Linked DNA regions of Homo sapiens: region 1 is linked to region 2. The links are contacts of gene promoters, found by promoter capture Hi-C in blood cells and fetal thymus (Javierre and others, 2016). All regions are on one chromosome and are shown on one strand. The core of a region is centred on a gene start or on the middle of the fragment in contact, and the rest is flanking DNA. Distances in the headings are between cores, read along the strand shown.

Region 1 (4,007 bases), core at 1-2,500, 840 kb before region 2:
GATACTGGCAGACACTTTAGTAGACTTAGGGACTTTAACTGCAGAGAAAATGTGAGGTTGCACTAAGAACTGTGAATCAGCCCTATGGGGCTGAAAATTGACAGCACTGGGATAAGTGGAACTGGAAAGAGAGCAGAAGTAGAAAAATAAAGTTCAGCCGGGCGCAGTGGCTTATGCCTGTAATCCCAGCACTTTGGGAGGTCAAGGCGGGCAGATCACCTGGGAGCAGGAGTTGGAGACTAGCCTGGCCAACATGGTGAGACCCCGTCTCTACTAAAAATACCAAAAAAAAATTAGCTGGGCATGGTGGCGCACGCCTGTAGTCCCAGCTACTCAGGAGGCTGAGACAGGAGAATCGCTTGAACCCGGGAGGCGGAGGTTGCAGTGAGCCAAGATTGCACCATTGCACTCCAGCCTGGGCAACAGGAGTGAAACACCATCTCAAAAAAAAAAAAAAAAAGAAAAAAGAAAGAAAAAGAAAGTTCAATTTATTGGGAAAAAAAGAGCCCTTTGGAAACAAGGAGGAAGAAGAAGTGTCGGCAAAGAAGCATTAGGAGGTTCAGGGTCAAAGAAGACAAGGAAAGCTTTGGCAAGAAGGGCAGATGGGGTGCAGAATTATGCTTCAATTCCAGAAAGGAAAGCACTGGGGTAGATACAAGGTTGGGGCTGGCAGAAGAGTAGCAGTTCAGAGATCATTAACACTTGATCCATTTAATTTCCCAGGTAACCAAAGACACCATGGAATATAATCTGCCTCCACTAAAGTGTACCTTTTGTACAATAAGGCAAAGAAAAAATAAGTACACACCTAAGCTCTAGACTTTTGTTCTATCCTCTCTGCATTTTCGGTGTGGATGAATACAACTTGGGAAGAAAGGAAAGAAGAACCAGCAGTTTTAAGCACTTACTATTTGCTCTGCAAAGTGTATTCATCAACATTGTTGCTTTCAATCTTAAAGCATGGATTGGAGACAGGCAGTATTACCCACACTTCATAGATGCAGAAATTAAATCTCAGGCTAAGGAGGAAGGAAAAGGGAGTTCACCAAATAAGCAGGAGCCTACCTGAAGCCTGATGCATCTGGTCCTAGAGCCAACCTTCCATTTCCCCCCAGCCCCCACCTGTTTAAGCTTCGAGGCCAGTGGGAGGAGGGAGGGGCCAGGCAGCTGAGGGCCAGGAAAGATGTGAAAAACTCTAGCTGGTGACCGAGAGGAGGAGTAGAGTGTGCCCTTAGTTCATATGAACTAGAGGGAGTTGGTATTTGCACAGCAGTCAGGGTCACATGAGTGATCATGGTACAGTGAGAAGTTCTCCCTCCCAGGGCCAGGTCACAGGGTTTGTTTCTGTTCAATCCGGATTCTTCCAGTAAAAGCTTCAACTTCCCACACTGAAGCTGAGAGCCTCCCAAAGTGCTGGCTACCTGCTGAGCGCCCCCGTAACTCTGACACAGTAGTAATTTGAGCCTCTGCAATTGCCGTCTGCTTCCTGTGAAAGTCCTTTCCGTGCCCACTGACCCTTGAGTGGGCCTTTGAGCTGCTGACTTTCAGCTGGAACTTGAAGGTAAGAATATGGCTTAAAAGAAATTCTGTACCTAACTCGTTAATTTATTTTTTAACCTTTAGCCACATAGGTGTGGCTTTACAGATGCATTTATTCAAACCAGAAAAGATCCTAAGAATCTGATAAAATAATATAAAAGAGTTTTGTTAACAGCCTCCAGCCTAAAAATTCAGACCTAGAAATTCAGGACCCCCCTCAAATCACCTCCAAAAGCTCTCTCTCCTGTAATACTATCTCTGTCTCCCACCCTGATCTTTTCCCAAATACCCTCCCTGTCCCATCCTCCTCCAGGGCCAGCTCAACTTCTCTGGCCAAGACTATTTCTTCTTCCATGACAGCCCTCCTCTTATGCCAGCCATTGACTAAGACACATGCTGGGCCTGCAAGGGGACTGAACCAGATCCTGTGCTCCAAGGGTCCAGACTTATAAGCAAGTAATTGTAGGACGTGGAGTAAGACCTATAAAATTTGCACACAAAATACTATAGGATCCCATGGAAAGGAGTGATTACTTCTGTTTACAGAGTCAGGGATGCCTCCACAAAGGAGGCCATAGTGATCTGGCCTGATATGATGAAAATGTCCCTGCTGGCTGCTCAAGGGGAAATGTATGTGTCTACATGCCTGACTCTCCAAGGGCAGGAACCATGTGCTGATGTGGCCCAGCAATGAGGGGCCTGGGGAGGGTGAGAAGGACTTGGGACTTCTCCTGTGGGAACTGGCAGATCCCTCTGCTCCCACTGCACTACCCAGCTGCCTCAATCTCTTGCTGCATCTCCTTCTCCCAGCTTTAGCCAGGTTCTATCACTCCCCGTGCAGGCCTCCAACAAGAGCAATACAGTGGGATCCATAGTTCACTGGACAGCCAAGCCCTTAACCGCCCTGGTCCTCAGCAGCAGCAGGTGCCCTTCCACACATGTTCACAGCTGTGCCCAGGCCCTCGGTCATCAGCTACCTGCCCAGAGCACAACGCCTACCACAGAGTTGGTCAATGTGTTGCGTGGATTATTCTCAGGGCATTAGTTCAAGGCCAGAGCCCTAAGCTCACATGTACACCTGCCTACAGGTGTACATTGGGAAGTCCCATAAATACATCAGACTCAACCCCAGAATTGGACTCACCATCCCCTCACCCCCACCCTATGGAGGACCTTCTCACTGTGTCCTTACATGGTCTTTCCTCCATGTGCACACATCCCTGGTGTTGCCTTGTGTGTCCTAATCTCCTCTCATTACAAGGATACCAGATTGGAATAGGTCTCATCCTAGCAGCCTCATTTTAACTTAATCACCTATTTAAAGACATTATCTCCAAATACAGCCACATGCTAATATACTATGAATTAGGACTTCAACATATGAACTTAGAGAGACACAATTCAAACCACGATAATGTCCGTCTTAGTCCATTTTATGTTGCTATAACAAAATACCTGAGGCTGGGTAATTTATAAATATAAGAGGTTTATTTTGAATCATGATTCTGGTGGCTGAAAAGTCCAAGAGCATGGTGCTGGCATCTGCTCAGCTTCTCGTGAGGGCCATGCTGCATCAAGACATGGTGAAGAAATAGAAAGGCAAGCAGGCATGTATAAAGGGACCAAACTCACCCACTTCTGGGAGATGGCATTAATCTACTCATGTGGAATCCACCCTTATGGCCCAAACACCTCTCACAAGACCCCGTGTCCTAGCACTGCCACACTGGCAGTTAAACTTCAACAGAGAGTTTTGGTGGGGACTAACCACATCCAAACCACAGCAGTATCCAAAAAGTGTTTTGTAGTTTTATGTTTATATATATGTATACTTTTTGTTCATAACTATGTATAAACAGTTTTCTATCACTATCACTGCCATAACAAATTATCAAAAATTTAGCAGCTTAAGACAATACAAGTTTATTATCTCACACCTCTGTAAGTCAGAAGTCCAAACAGGTGTCTCTGGGTAAAATCAAGGTGTTGGCAGGGCTGCGTTCCCTTCTGGAGGGTCTGAAGAAGAATCCCTTCCAAGCTCATTCTGGTTGTTGGCAGAATTCAGATTCATGTGGCTGTAGGATGGAGGTCCCATTTGCTTGTTGGCTGAGGTTCATTCTCAGCTTCTGGAGGTCATGCCTTGTCTTGTGTTCCCCTTTGTCTCTAAGCCATCAATGGCAAGTTGAGTCATTCTCATGCTTCCAAACTCTCCAGCCACTTCTTCTGCCACACGACTCTCTGACTGCTCTTCTACACCCTTGTCCACTTTTAAGTGCCCTTGTGGTCACATTAGACCCACCGGGATAATACAGGACATGCTCATTGCCTTAAGGTTCTTAACCTAAATTCCATCTGCAAAGCCCTTTGCCACACAATGTAATGTATTAGGAATTAGGACGTGGACATCTTTAGGGCCATTATTCTGCCTACAACAATATACATTTGAAAAAGACAGATAGAAATACATC
Region 2 (4,084 bases), core at 423-2,922:
TTGTAAAATGAGTTTAAAATAATTATCACAGGTTGGGCACCGTGGCTGGCGCCTGTACTCCCAGCACTTTGTGAAGATGAGGTTGGAGGATCTCTTGAGCCCAGGAGTTTGAGACTAGCCTGGGCAACATAAGGAGACCCTGTCGCTACAAAAAATTTAAATTAAAAATTTAGCCAGGCGTGGTGGCGCACCTGTAGTTTCAACTATTCAGGAGGCTGAGGTGAAAGGATGGCTTGAGCCCAAGAGTTTGAGGCTGCAGTGAGCCGTGATAGCACCCCGCGCTCTAGCCTGCCTGACAGAACGAGATCCTGTCTAAAGCTATGGAAGTAAATATAAATAAATAAAATAATTATCTGGCAGAGCTGTTTAGAGGATTAAATAATATATAGCACGCTCTTGGCCTTTTAGCCTCAACAAATACTACTTTTTTCCTTAATAATAACAGAAAGATCATACAACTTCACAAACCACAAGGACAGGCTGGCCGATAGGCAGGCCCCCCACGACTCTTCTGATGTTAGCCCTGACTGAACTCGCTGTGCAGCGTCCAACCAATCCTGGTTTGTGCTGGGCCCTGGACTGGAACCCAGCCCTTCCCGACGGGAACGCAAAGCGGCCACGAGGGGGCAGCGCACGGCAGGGAATCTTCGCCGCCGACCCCAGCCCACCGCCAAACTTCCCTGCTGCTCTCGGTCCTCCTGTACGTACTTCCGTTGCTCTGACGCTCCCAGAAGCCGGGGCGTCGGGAAGGAGAGCGCGAATTCACCCTCCTCTGCGCCTCCGTAGGAAAAAATTGGAGCGGGGGTTCACGAGACTGCGCCGCGGCGGGCGCTAGAGCCCCTCGCACAGCGTCGCCAAGGGTGCGGCGTGGAGCCGGGCGCCTGGCGCCAGGGTGCTGGTCGGCGGGCAGCGGCGCCAGCCTCCGACCCGCGACTCCGGCGAGCCAAGGCTGCGCCGGGAGGAGTCGGCGCGGGCCCCGGGGTGCCCCCTTCAACTGGAGCGCCTTCCCCTCCTGCCTTGCGGCGCATCCCCACACCTACACCGGAACGAAGCTCCGGGGCTGTCACTTCTGCGCGCTTCTCGGAAAGGAGTCTGAACTGGGAGCGCTCCGGGGGGTCGTCGGGGAGGATGCCCGGGCGTCGGCTGTGTCCCCAAGCTGCTCGCCGGCGCTGGCGAGGAAGGCAGTCGGGATAACGCCGCCCAAACTTTCCTTCGCAGCAGCGTTGGCAGGAAACGTCCCTCTCTGAGGCTCACGAAAAGCCGAAAAAGACTCGGACGCTTGGAGGAGGCAGGGCCAAGCCTGCGCAGGAGAGGTTCCCCGGAGCCCTGGAGATGTCCTAGGGGACCAGGCTAATCGCCGGCTTGCGCCCAAGCGAAGGGAAGTCCTGCAGGCACGGCGCCTCCTTCCCTGAGCCCCGCAGTGACCGTGACCTCCGCGCGCACCCCCGCGCACGTGCTCGCGGCCGAGGAAGAGGAACGGTCCTGCTGAATCCTCTGGAGGACAGCGACTAGCGAGCAGGCCAGGGGCGCATGGAGGTGCCGCGGGGGCGGTGCGGCTCGCCAGCTGCGCGGAGGAGCGTGCACGCCGCGCCCCGGCCTCCCCGGGGACCTGGCCGGCCGCTGCCCGCACTTCCTGCCGCTGGTCTCCCAGGCGCGAGCCGCCGCTTGCAGCACAGAACCCGTTGAGCTTCGTGCCCGGCAGCACCCCCGGTCCCCCGCGCGGGGCGGACTTGCGGCGGGACAGGTGTAGCCCGCAGCCGCAGGCGCTGCGCTCAGGACTGGGCGGGCTCGGCTGGCCGGTCCCCGCCACGCAGGCCGGTCCCCGCCACGCAGGCCGGTCGGTGAGCCACTTCGCACCGCCACAGCCCTAGCATCGGGCCACCAGCCGGGGTGAAGAAAGTCACGGCGGAGCCCGGCTCCCCAGTCCTGATGCTGGCTGCCGGTGGCGGGCTCCACGCCGGCCCCGGGACCTAGGCAGCCGCGCGAGACCGCTGCGGGCGCCTCCCCCATGCTGCTCGGAGCGTCCTGGCTGTGCGCATCCAAGGCGGCCGCCGCTGCTGCGCAGAGCGAGGGCGACGAGGACAGGCCAGGCGAGCGACGGCGGCGTCGGGCGGCGGCCACCGCCGCGGGGGCGGGCGAGGACATGGACGAGTCGTCGCTGCTGGACCTGCTGGAGTGCTCCGTGTGTCTGGAGCGCCTGGACACCACGGCCAAGGTGCTGCCATGCCAACACACTTTCTGCCGCCGCTGCCTGGAGAGCATCGTGTGCTCGCGCCACGAGCTGCGCTGCCCCGAGTGCCGCATCCTGGTGGGCTGCGGCGTGGACGAACTGCCCGCCAACATCTTGCTGGTGCGACTGCTGGACGGCATCCGTCAGCGGCCCCGCGCGGGCACCAGCCCCGGCGGCAGCCCGCCCGCGCGTCCCATCCCAGGCCAGAGTGCGGCCCCCACGCTCGCGGGCGGCGGGGGCGGCGCGGCAGGCAGCACCCCGGGTTCCCCGGTTTTCCTCTCCGCGGCCGCGGGCAGCACCGCCGGCAGTCTGCGGGAGCTGGCGACCAGCAGGACCGCGCCGGCGGCAAAGGTGAGTATCTGTCTCGGCGGAAGTGGCCACGGCACGTGGGAGTGTGTGGGTGGGTGCTTGGGCGTGGGGGGCAGTGATGAGGTGCGGAGGAGACCACGGGTGGTCCTGCGTTGGCCCACTCCGCTGTTGCTCTTCCTCCAACTTCGCTTGCTTGGTGGCGGCATCCGGCCCCTGGGCAGCTCGCCGCTTGTTCACGTGTGTCCCATCCTCCTGTGGAGTGGGCACGCCTTCCTGTCCCGTCGCTCACCCCCGATTCCTTGGCCGGACTTGTTACCCTGCCTCTTAAACTTAGCATCGCCCTTGCGTCTCCCTAGAAACGGGGACCTTCTTCCTCTGGGTCCCCAGACACTCCCTCTGCACACCCTGGGCCTGCCTAGAGAAAAGTTAGCCCTTAACGTTTCTGACAGGGCTCTGATGGCTGCTCTGGGAAGCCCGCGGGCCTCCTGCCTGCGGTGTGGCTAAGGAGGGGAGGGCAGAAGGCAGAGTGGGACTGGGGTTTGGAGGAATGCTTCTAGTAGTCTGGAAGGAGTTAATCTGGAGGCCCCAGGAGCCTTTTGACCCAGCCCTTTTGGACTTGGCAGTGTCTAACCAGAAGCCAAGGTCTTCTCCTGGGCTCCCAGGCAGGGTTGCATTCCCACGGGGGTCATTTATATTTATTATTATTATTTTTGGTACAGCCGCATTTTAGGGCCTTCGCTGCTTCTGTTTTAGACGAAAGATCTTCTCTGGATGGCTTCAATGATTTGGTTTTAAAAGCTTCTTACAGCTTCTTATTACACACCCTTGCCACCTTGTGAACAGTTACCAGGAGAGAGGGCATGGGATGCTGGTTTAAATGAGAAAAGAAAGGACCCGGGTTTTGTTAATTTCTTTAAATGGAGAAAAGCACTTAAATGTTAAAAAAAATACATTATCTATTGGAATAATCATTTGCTTTAGAAACACAACTTTATTCCTCTACTTTTGACCATTTAAGGAGTTGGTGATGCCTAGTCCTTCCACTATGTGTAATCCTGAAATGCTGGGAACATTCTAGCACCTGGATTAGGCAGTACTGCAAATCTCTAAGGTTAAGGTTAGGAACTTAAACCCTTGGATGTTGAGCTTGAGTTAAATGCCATACTTTGCTGCAATGGGTTTTTTTTTCTATGGATCAGGAAGAATGGGGACAGTCAAGGATAGTCACTGGGGGTCACTTGGGGGGCACTGCTGAAGGGGAATTTTTTTCTTTGGTTTTAATTGTGATTAAATCCAGCTAAATGCTTGCGTTAGAAATTTTCAAACTTTTCCTTCCTGGCCTTGCTGTTTTTGATGTAAGGTATTTATAATTAAATATCTTTATTTGCAGAATAAGTGGGTTACCTTCTTCTGTTCTGATAAATTATGTGATATTCGGAGCCCCGCTTCTAGTAAAACGCTGGGACATTCTGATGACCATCTGTTTACAGATGTCCTCTCAGTTTATCTTGGGGGACTTTGTGTTTGACCAGGAGGTTAGGAGGT

The links. The method cuts DNA at HindIII sites, captures the fragments that hold promoters and counts their contacts. A CHiCAGO score of 5 or more calls a contact.
Region 1: a fragment that was not itself captured here is called in contact with the fragment with the promoter of SH3RF3 in region 2 in 4 of 17 cell types (erythroblasts, naive B cells, total B cells and 1 more); the score reaches 7.6 in erythroblasts.

Annotation. Positions count from the first base shown.
Region 1 is chr2:108,287,510-108,291,516 of GRCh38, forward strand. It overlaps SULT1C2 (sulfotransferase family 1C member 2), which reads left to right and starts at 1,386. Exons shown (of 8, transcript NM_001056.4): 1 at 1,386-1,561. The HindIII fragment of the contact is 242 bases long and covers 1,130-1,371 here.
Region 2 is chr2:109,127,533-109,131,616 of GRCh38, forward strand. It overlaps SH3RF3 (SH3 domain containing ring finger 3), which reads left to right and starts at 1,673. Exons shown (of 10, transcript NM_001099289.3): 1 at 1,673-2,581. The coding sequence starts at 2,009. SH3RF3-AS1 (SH3RF3 antisense RNA 1) reads right to left here and starts at 2,587. Exons shown (of 1, transcript NR_029193.1): 1 at 1-2,587. It also overlaps a transcript of RANBP2 not described here. RefSeq lists silencers at 889-948, 1,329-1,398, 1,409-1,458, 1,489-1,688. The HindIII fragment of the contact is 8,501 bases long and covers 1-3,335 here.